3 separate regions of the Homo sapiens genome follow, and regions 2 and 3 are each linked to region 1. The links are contacts of gene promoters, found by promoter capture Hi-C in blood cells and fetal thymus (Javierre and others, 2016). All regions are on one chromosome and are shown on one strand. The core of a region is centred on a gene start or on the middle of the fragment in contact, and the rest is flanking DNA. Distances in the headings are between cores, read along the strand shown.

The links. Contacts are between HindIII fragments. The CHiCAGO score rates a contact against its expected background, and 5 or more counts as called.
Region 2: a fragment that was not itself captured here is called in contact with the fragment with the promoter of PON2 in region 1 in 2 of 17 cell types (M0 macrophages and total CD4 T cells); the score reaches 5.8 in M0 macrophages.
Region 3: the fragment with the promoter of SGCE here is called in contact with the fragment with the promoter of PON2 in region 1 in 1 of 17 cell types (naive B cells); the score reaches 7.7 in naive B cells.

Annotation. Positions count from the first base shown.
Region 1 is chr7:95,433,020-95,436,581 of GRCh38, reverse strand. PON2 (paraoxonase 2) reads left to right here and starts at 1,554. Exons shown (of 9, transcript NM_000305.3): 1 at 1,554-1,704. The coding sequence starts at 1,631. RefSeq lists an enhancer at 1,197-1,767 and a silencer at 1,442-1,871. The HindIII fragment of the contact is 3,363 bases long and covers 589-3,562 here.
Region 2 is chr7:94,468,286-94,471,847 of GRCh38, reverse strand. No RefSeq gene overlaps it. Among named protein-coding and RNA genes, the nearest start is that of CASD1, 40 kb to the left of the region's middle. The HindIII fragment of the contact is 3,609 bases long and covers 1-3,539 here.
Region 3 is chr7:94,654,468-94,658,029 of GRCh38, reverse strand. It overlaps SGCE (sarcoglycan epsilon), which reads left to right and starts at 1,897. Exons shown (of 11, transcript NM_003919.3): 1 at 1,897-2,040. The coding sequence starts at 1,932. PEG10 (paternally expressed 10) reads right to left here and starts at 1,705. Exons shown (of 2, transcript NM_001172437.2): 1 at 1,439-1,705. The coding sequence starts at 1,443. RefSeq lists enhancers at 453-502, 1,772-2,549. The HindIII fragment of the contact is 19,954 bases long and covers 1-3,562 here.

The DNA of each region.
Region 1 (3,562 bases), core at 305-2,804:
CAGGCATGGGTATTGGGGCGTGACTGAAGTCCCATACTCATGTCGCTCTGGGCCTGATAAATTTTGCATACCTCACAAAGCTCAGACTGCTCTCAGCTATTTTTTTTCCTTACAATGTAATTGATTTTCTTTGCAATCTATACATTTTATTCATTTATTTAAAATTTTTTTTTCTTCTTTCTTTTTTTCATGAACCGCACAGAGAAAATTTATGCATTTTATTGTAAGCATTTATAAACATTATTCTAAGAAGTTATCCACAGGCTCACCACTGCCAGAAGGGTCCACGACACAAAAAAGGTAATGCCTCATGGGCTTTCAAAGGACAACTTTTTACTTCTCTTTCTACCATCCAGTATAATCCAATATCCTTAGGACTGAAGCAGAGATACACACACACACAGGGAGAGAGGTGTTTGTGCTTTTTTTTTTTTTTTTTTTTTTTGGTGAGAGGCAGGTGGGAAATTGGCATCCACTTTTATTTACTGGTTCTTTATAAAACTGATATTTGTTGAAAATTGTCAAGTGTGACCATTTCTGCCTACATATTGTAGGGTGGCAATTAAATACCGAAAACCATTAGAAGCTTATTTCAGATGTACTCATTTATTGTAATGGTATCAATCTTGATGGGTAAATTTCATTTTACTTTTAAAATTGTATTTTAAATTATTCCTTCATGTTACGGTTGTTAGAGTAAAAACGGAAAAGAAAAAAACTACACTTCTTCCCTTTGAGTTTGGATGAAAAAGACGTGTCTAAGTCCTTAAGTCTGTAGTCTGGAAGTATTAATAGAGGCTGGGCATGGTGGCTCATTCCTGTAATTCTAGCACTTTGGGAGGCTGAGGCAGGAGGATGGCTTGAGTCCAGGAGTTTGAGACCAACCTGGGCAACACAGCAAGACTCGGTCTCCACACACACACACACAGACACACACACAACTTACACACACTTAGCTAGGTGTAACGGTACGTGCCTGCGGTCCCAGCTACTCAGGAGGCTGAGGCTGGAGGGTCCCTTGAGTCCGGGAGGTCCAGACTGCAGTGAGCTATGATTGTGCCAATGTACTCCAGCCTAGGCAACACAGCGAGACCCTGTTAAAAAAAAAAAAAAAAAGTATTACGAGGCACAGGATGTTTATTTATTCGCAACTACGTCCTGTTATAAAAAGTAGTGATTCCAACGTGAAATATTTACACGACGCATCCCGTTACTTTCCCTCCCTTGGCCACCGACCCCCATCCCCAAAAGCTGCTTTCTATGTAAGTTTCTCACTGGAATAGCGAGTGAGAAATGTGTTTGAAGACTAGGGAAACGAGAAAGGTATGCGGGCTGCTAGAGGGTTTCGGGTGGGTTGTTTGAAAAAGGAAGTGAAGGAATTCAAAGTTTCACATCATGAGCCTAATGTAAGGCGTGTCCGGGCCGTCCCGAAGGTATCTGGGGAAATAGGTTTGTGAGGACAAAGACCAGGGCCAGGCCCAGGGCGGAGCCTCCGCGGCCCCGACGCAGGGACTCGGCCTAGGCGGAGGACGGGGCGGAGCGCGGCCGGCACCATCGAGCCGGGAAGATGGCACCGCCCACGGAGCTGCTGGCCAGGCCGGAGCGAGGCAGCGCGCCCGGCTCCCGCGCCATGGGGCGGCTGGTGGCTGTGGGCTTGCTGGGGATCGCGCTGGCGCTCCTGGGCGAGAGGCTTCTGGCACTCAGGTAGGTGGGACTCCCGCGCGCCCCTCCTCGGCGGTCCCCAGGCTCGGGGTGGCCGCGTGGTGCGGGGAGGGCGCAGGCTGGGGGAGGGATTCCTGCGGGACCTGGCCCTGCGGCCGGGGGTGGAGAATTTTTGAATGCTGTCCCTCCCCCAGCTAGTTGAACCCCCATCACCCCGACTCTCCGCTTCTAGTGAAAAAACTAGCAAAGTTTGGAGTGAATCGCGACACTTTCTTGAAAGTTTATAAGCCCTTGCTGCTAACAAAGTTCTCTTCTGCTTAGGCTGACAAGAGAATGCTTTGCAATTACCCAAGGGCCAAACTAGTGGTTTAAATTGAAAACAAAATGACTACTCATGCATTGAAACCTTAACTATGAAGATTTATTTCAGGTCATTGGTGCTGTTTCTCCTTGTTGCCCAAACCAGACCCGTCTTTAATAAAGTTGTTCTCCACCCATTTCTGCATAGTTTGAGAAACTCTTCAGCTGTAGATCAAAGACACTTGAAATATTCAGCTACTGTTCTTACTTCCTATTTATTCACCAGGGAAGCCTGAAGCCAGAATGCCAGACAGCGCAGACACTATTCCATCTCGCATTTTAGTTTTAATGAAAATCTCTGGTAGGTAGACATCATCGTTTATAAATTACCAACTCAACGTTTGTTTTTTGTTTATTTTATTTTTTGTAGAGATGGGGTCTTGCTGTATTGCCCAGGCTGTTCCCTAACTCTTGCACTCAAGCAATCCTCCAGCCTAGGCCTCCCCACAGTGCTGGGATTACAGGTGTGAGCTGTTCTGCCCTGCCTCAACCAAAATTTTATAGGCCTCATGCAAAAGAGTTCCAGAAAGACTGAGCACCTGCTATGTGTAATGTTCTCTCTTAGGCTTCTATAGTAGAGTACGACCCTTATGGAGTTTGATACAGGGGAAGAGAGAATTAAAATACAGTAAATGTATAAATTAGGATGTTCTAAGGACAGACACAAATGAACCGCATAGGCTTAAAGAGGAAAGATTCCATCCCCTGAGGGTGGAGTTCTAGAGGGAGGAAGAGACATTCGACCTGACCTTGAAGGGTGGGTGCAACACATATGAGCATGAAGGGGCCCATGCCAAATGTATAGTGCAGCAGGAGCAAAGGGGCTAAGGTGGGAAGTTGGAAGACTAGCAAATGGGCCAATTTGAAGGGAGCATAAAGTCAGGAGATGAGAATAGTAGGGTGGTGGGAAGGATAGGTTTTGAGGCCATTAAATATAAGTTGAAAAATGGGGCCCCACTTTCATAGGCCCAATAGTGCTTCAAAAGGGAAATATTGGTGGGTTTTGCTTTTCAACAAGAACTTAATATAACTAGTTGTGTTTTATAGAGATAAGCCTGGAAGGGGGGATTGGAGGAGAGCAATGGTTCTCTGTACATTAGAATCTCCTGGAGGGCTGGTGTCTGAGTGGCACCACCAAAGATTCTGATTCAGCTGTTCTGGATCAGAATCTACAGCTCACACCTGTAATCCCAGCACTGTTGGAGGCCTAAGCCAGAAGATTGCTTGAGCCCAGGAGTTAGTGACAGGCCTGGGCAACATAGCAAGATCCCACCTCTACAAAATGAATAAATAAATAAATAAATAAATAAAAAACAAAATTTGAGTTGGTAATTTATAAACTATGGTGTCTACCTACCAGAGATTTTTCGTTATAATTAAAATGTGATATGGAATAATGTATTGTTTGGCAAGCTGGCTTCAGGGTTCCCAGGTAAATAGATAAATAAGGAAGTGCATAATGTAAGAACAGTGGCTGACAGTAGCAGTGGCATTTTTTATTTTTAAAAACATTCCTGATAATTCTAATGAGCAGTCAAGG
Region 2 (3,562 bases), core at 486-2,985, 960 kb after region 1:
TTCCTGTCATTCTGTGATTCCAATTATACATATGTTATGTCTTTTGATATTGTCTTAGAGTTCTCTGAGACTCTGCTCATTTTCTTCCAATCTTTTTAATTTTTTTGTCTATTCTTCAGATTGGACTATTTCTATTGTATTATCAAGTTCACTGACTAGTTGCTCTGTCATCTCTATTTTGCTGCTAAACCTATATAATGATTCTTTTTACAATTTCAGACATTTTATTTTTTAGTTTTAGAATTCGTTAGCTTATTTTAATAAATATTTCAAAATATTTCATATTTTATTTATCTTTACTGAGATTTCCTATTATTTTATTTATTGCTAACATATTTTTCCTTATTTCACTGACCATAGTTATAACAGCTACTTTAAAATCTTTGCCTACTAATTCCAACTTCTGTATCATCCAGGGTTGGTGTATATATTTACCAACATTAGTATAACAATATTCTATCTTTTCTGTCGAGAAAAGTAATACTTCCTGTTTTAAAAATATATTCAGTAATTTCTATACCCTGGGCACTGTCAGGGTTATATTGTGCATTCTTTTATAGTCTTCCAAAAGTTCTGATTTTTTTTTCAGATATTAAACTCGGGTGGACTCAAGCATCAAACGCTGTCTCTTGTGTGGCAGCTAAAATCACAGTTAATTGTTAAGAATCTTTATCTCGATTTTGTCTGGCAAGTGCATCATTTAGGAGTCAGCTAAAGTTAAAAAAACGTATATTGAGATATAATTTATAATTTTACATAGCATAAATTAACCAAATATAAGTGTACAATGTGATAAATTTTGGTAAATTTGTGTATTTGTGTAAAATTACCTCAATTCTGTTTTAGAACATTTCCATCACCCCCTAAAATTTATTTGTGCCCATTTGTTGTTAATTTCCACTCCCACCCATAGCCCTAGGCAACTGTGGATCTACTTCTGTGTGTATAAGTTTACCTTTTCTAGAAATTTTCTGTTAATAGAATGGTACACTATATAGCCATTTGTGTCGGTCTTCTTTCACTTAACATTTTTTTGAGGTTCATCTATGTTGTTGAATACATGAGCAGTCTACTCTTTTTCGTTGCTGAATAGTATTTTATTGTGTGCCTATACCTCATGTGTTCATCCATTCATCAGCTGATGGGCATTTGGATTACTACCAGTTTTGGGCTATTTTGAATAATGCTGTTATTAACATTTGCGTACATGTCTTTATGTAGATGTATGTTTTTATTATTTGCCTTATCTGCTTTTAAATCCAAGTATTAGATTCTTATTTCAGTTATCTTTTCAACTTCTACAATTTCCACTTTATTTTATTTAGTAGATTCCTTGTTTCTTATGAATTCTCCATTCTTTTCTCAATTTTCATGAACATATTAAACATTATTATTAGTTTATTATTGTTTGTAGAAACAAAGTCTCACTATGTTGCCCAGGCCAGTCTCAAACTCCTGGGCTCAAGCAATCCTTTTGCCTCAGTCTCCCAAAGCACTGGGATTACAGGCATGAGCCGCAACACCTGGCCATAATGTTATTTTGAGGTCTCTAATGATAGCTCCACTATTTGGGTCATCTTTACTTCCATTTCATTGTCAAATCTTTCCTAGTTTTTTGTTATATGTTCCAATTTCTTATCTTGCCTAACAATATTTGATGGAATACTAGAGATTCTGTATGAAAAATTATACAGGCCTTAGATGACGATATCTTTCCCCAAAGATAATTTAATTTCATTTTGGCAAGTAGATAGAGATATAACAGGTCACTTTTATCTAGTCAAGAGTGGATTCCAAGAGTGGATTCTATACTGTGATGGAACTGGTCTAGTTTTAATTTGCCTTTATTCCTTATTTTTTACTTCTAAGGTATAACCTTTTTATGGTCTCATGTGAAATCATGGGGGTGTTTCCTGGGTCCCCTCTACTTTTGTGAGCCCTGAATTATAATCTATATGCCCTTGGTACTACCATACTGCTAAAATCTTTGCTTAGCTCTTTGGCATACTGGTACTTTCTGCTAGATGTTTAGGAGTCTTGCTTTGTGTATATGCAGTTTTGGGGATGGCCACCCCTTGCAAGGAAATTGCATGCAGAATTTCACGCTTACTTTTATGTGTTTTCTTCCCCAAATTTTAACTCTATTACATGCCCTCACCCCCAAACTCTGTTTCTTCAGCCCAGTGAGAGTGTCGTAAGCCAGGTTTGTCTTTCTTTTTAATCTCTGTTTCTCTCAGATGCAAATTTGCAGATGTCTTGAAGGGAAATACAGGGCAGAATCTCACTTCAGTGTGTTTTCCTTCTCTCCCGGACTGCTGCTTCTCAAGTCCTGTCTGCTGGAAGTGCTCTTGAATGTTGTCAAACTATTGTTTCATGCATTTTATAGTTAACTTGGGCAAGAACTGCTCTGATATGAGCATTTCTGAAATAGCTGCAAGCAGAGTTTTCCCAATTATTTGGAAAAACATACAAGAAAATCCCTACTTTTTGCTGCAATATACTTCTGTAATATAATTCCGTCAAAGCAGTGAGTAATTTTTTTAATCAGATGCTTCTATGGTGCTTCAATTTAGAGTTTCATTTGTGACCAGAAGGCTTGACATCAAATAAATCCCAAGTTATAAATCAACTATAAAATTTACACAAGAATATAATAATTTAAAATTGTAAATGCAGGCTAGATTTCTTTGTGCAGCATAGAAAGGACCTCAACATATGTGATGTGTAATGTATTAAAGAAAAAATTTTATTGTACTAATATTGTGCTCCATTGTTAATATATCAGCTACTATTGGCATTTAGTTTATTATATTTTTATCTTAGAATGTAAAAAAAAATTAAGGAATGACAATTTGAGTGGCCCAGTTCTTTTTAAAAGGTCTCTAATACAGTTAAATTACTTGCTACATTTTATCTAAATAAGACCTTTATTGAGAATTGAATTATTTTATTAATCTTACTTCTAACCAAAAATATTATAGCACATAAAATATTTATTGATATTGCTGTTGATGACTATCAAGATGCTGCTTCTGCTAAACATTATTTTAAAAGTAATGATTGGCTGGGCACAGTGGCTCACATCTGTAGTCCCAGGATTTTGGGAGGCCGAGACAGGTGGATTGCTCTAGCTCAGGAGTTTGAGACCAGCCTGGACAACAAGGTGAAACCTCATGTCTACCAGAAATACAAAAAATTAGCCAGTGTGTGCCTGTGATTCCAGCTATTCAGGAGGATGAGGTGGGAGGATCACTTGAGCCAGGGAGGCAGAGGTTGCAGTGAGCTGAGATCACACCGCTATACTCAATCCTGGGTGACAGAGTGAGACCCTGTCACAACAAAAGTAAAAATTGACTAATTATTTTTCTCTTTCTTACCCTTGTCTAAGGTTTTGCAAACTGTAAGTATAGCTATTACATATCAGAACAGGAAATAATTTTTGCCTATTCACTATCATTGATACTTTGACAATTATCAAGAGGCTTAACATTTTATTATAATCTGCATGAAAAATGAACATTTCCTTTAAGAAAGAAGCTTCGGCTTGACTTATAGAATTGCA
Region 3 (3,562 bases), core at 648-3,147, 780 kb after region 1:
AGGTGGCCAGAGAGAGGTGGGGCCTGGGCAGGCAGGCGCTAAGGAGCTGGGAGGAGGGGCCTGAGGAGGCCGCATCTAGAAGGCGCGCTCTGGGAAGGCGCGCTGCAGGGGAGGCGCGCTCTGAGGAGGCGCTGTAGGAGGAGGCGCTAAGCACCGCAGAGAAGGCACACTAGGATGGGCGGGGCAGGCCTGAGACTGGCTGCTACAGGGCTGCAGAGTATCTGCACACCCCCCCCCCCCGCCGCCAGAATCCCCCCTCCCAAACCCCTCCCACCAGTCACCAAAGCCAGATTCATTTCATGCAGCAAGAGCAATCCACAGATCCAATTCCCCCGCCATACTCAGCAAACCCACAGTTTCCACAAACTGTTGCTGGACGCTGATTCGCGCCACCACAACTACACCGCCACTTCAATCAAGCACAAGTAGGCAGGCAGCCTGCTCTGCCATCACCAAAAGATTCCCATTTCCACTCCAATCAGTGCCCCTCCACTCCACTGCTATAGCGGGAATGGTGTGGGCAGAATGTTAAACACTAATTTTTGCCCGGGGCTCCATTTTGTCTACCAGCACCATCATGCGAGAACCGTCCTGCAGAAAAATAGAGTGGGAGCCATTCCAAAAGGTGAAAGGGTGGGGTCCTGCTCCAAGAAAACAGAGGAATTGTACTCCGCAGCTCATGTCCCACTACGGCTGCTTTATTTGTAGCGCAAACGGTCTGCAGCTCCTGTACCTCTGCAGCTCTTACCACTTTGTAGTGCATCTTAGGTGTGAATTGTTCCGCAGCTCATGTACCTCTGCAGTTCATGTGCCTCGCAGCGCAATGAAGCGCTGTTGTCGGGCTGGCTAATCGCATCGTTTTTGTAGCGTTTTTTGTAGTGCTACTCTTCTGCAGCTCAGATTTTGCAGCGCATGTAAAGCGCAATTCAGTTTTCTGTCTGCAGCTCCTATATCGCTGCTCCTCGTTCTGGATTGTAGCGCCACTGAAGCGCCCATCCGTCAGTTTGTGGCACATAAAGCGCCCATCAGTTTATAGCGCAATGAAGCGCCAGTTGTAGCTCCCATCAGTTTGTCGCCCGCGTGAAGCGTGCTTGTAGCGCATCTGAAGCGCCAGTTTGTAGCGCATTTGAAGCGCTTATCTGTTTGTAAAGCATGGCACTTGGTAGCGCATTTGAAGAGCAAATTGCAAATCGATCTATAGCTCCTGACCGTCTGCAGCTCATCACTGTCCGCAGCTCATCTCTGTCTACAGCCCGTATCTGGACTTGGTCCTGGAAACCCAAGCCTTTAAGGCTTGGTTTCCCCATTTGTTTTGGGGTACAGCCAGTGAAGGCGTGACAAGTTTTGCGTGGAGACATTCTGGGGTGCTACTCCATCTCCCGCAGCTCCCGATAAGCACGGGGAATGAACGTGATCTTTAAAAAAAAAACGTCCTCACCGCATACTCACCACGCGAGGACTCCTCTGCGAAGACAGGAAGGATGGGGTCCCACACCTGAGCCAGGCGCGGTCTCCACTGGGTGCTCCGCAGCCCGGAGTGGCTCCGGACGACAGCCCGCTCAGCGGACCTTTCGCCAGGCTCGGTGGACCTTCTCCGCTGTTCTCCTCAGGGCGCAGTCAGGTTTCTTCGACACACACCAACCGAAGTTGAAGCGCGTGTACCAGGAGCGCAGACTGTGAGCCTTATATAGGTTGCACCGAGGAGGGGGGCGCCAAATCCCAGCGTGCTCCGCGGGCTAGGGGGTGGAGGGGGGTGCGGGGATGGGGGATGGGGGTGGGGGCGGTGGCCACGCTGCAGTGGCCCGCCGCTAGAGGGAGTACGGGATTACCGAGGGGGTGCGGGATGCTGATGCTGAACTGGCCAAGCTGGGAGGGAAGAAGAAAGGGAGGGGAGGGGAGAATCGAGGACGGACGGCCTAGCCAGGCCAAGAATGCAATTGCCCCGGTGGTGGGAGCTGGGAGACCCCTGTGCTTGGACGGGACAGGGTCGGGGGACACGCAGGATGAGCCCCGCGACCACTGGCACATTCTTGCTGACAGGTTAGTGGCCTGCGCGCGACGTGGAGGTCCCGGGGCCAACAGGCCGCCGCCTCCCCCTCCCCCGCTCGGGTTCCGGGCGCCTGAGCGCGCCCTTTGGGCACCAGCCTCTCTTTCTGTCCCGGACCCCACCGTACCCCTCCTTCAGTACACCCTGTACCCCATTTCCCCGGCCCAGCTTCTCTCTCCCCAGGCTTGACCCCTGGCCTTTTTTTCCTCTCCGCGCCCCCGCGGGCCCCTCCCTGCTCTGCGGGCGCAGAAATTCCATCTCCAATTCCTGTTCCCAACATCCCCCTCCCCGCCCAGCCCCAGGGTAGTCCTCTCCCGATCCCTGTAGCAAAGAGCTGGGGGTCGTTGCCTGTTTTTCTGGGGGGCCCGTTTCCCCGCGATTGGGCTCTGCGACCGCGATGCGAGCCAAAGGAAATGGGTGTCAAGCTGCGTCCCCGCTACACAAACACATCTTTTTTCCTTTTCTTGATAGTGGTAGAGAACACAAAAATGTGACATTTAAAACACCGAATTTCCCCCTCTTGCTAAGTGCATTTCTCGGTGACGGAAATCTCGGTTTTCTTCGGTTTTACGGAGCAGGGAAGCGGAATCATGAAATGCTGGGAGCTAAACAGGGCGTTCAGGTCAGGGTTAACCCCGGCTGGAGGCCAGAGATGCTGCCGTACCGAGTGCGCTATTTCCAGAAACCAAAACCAATTTAAAACAGCTGTGGATGCTTCCAGTGTGTTTGGCGGGCTTTGAAGGCTCCCAGCTACCGACTTTTGGTGGCGATTACGAGGTTTACACAGAGACCTTGCTTCCCTTGCAACGTTACATTTTCCTAAATCTTGTAGGGTGAATGAATGCGTTTAGTCACGGCAACCGCACGTTTAATCCTTTCCAGCGGGTTGCCGAGATTCGGCCACAAATATTTGCGTGCATTTGTACTATGAACATATATATTTTATGTCAGGGAAAATTGCAGTGGCTGATAAGACGCTAAAATTCTGATGAGGAAGGATGCTAAATAAAACCTTAACGCGGATTCCCATCTAAGCGCCTCAGTGTCAGGTGCTTGGGAAACTGACAATCTGTTGATGATCTTAGTAAAACAAGTTTAAGTTAAAAGGGAAAACCAAATTGTCTACAGCTGAGTTAGGTTTCTGAAACACAGATGAAACGCTTTCATATTTGAAGAGCAAAATTGAGCACATTTTAGTAACATTGCTACGGATTATTTTATACTTGGAATATCAATAAGAATTTGACTTATTGTCATAACAACGTTGCAGACACCGCACTTTAAAAGAGAGCCTTTCTAGGAATAAACAAAACTGTAGCCCATTTACTGAGATTTTACTTTTTATTAGAAAATGCCCACTATCCGGAATATGAATGAATGAAATGCAGCTTTTTAACAAAGACATTTCCCTAGGAAGTTGGGTAAACACAATTATACTTTTTAGAAGTGCCTTTTAATTTAATCTTTAGGATGTTCACCCTCTTCTGCAAGATAGAATAATTCCAGGATTTCTTA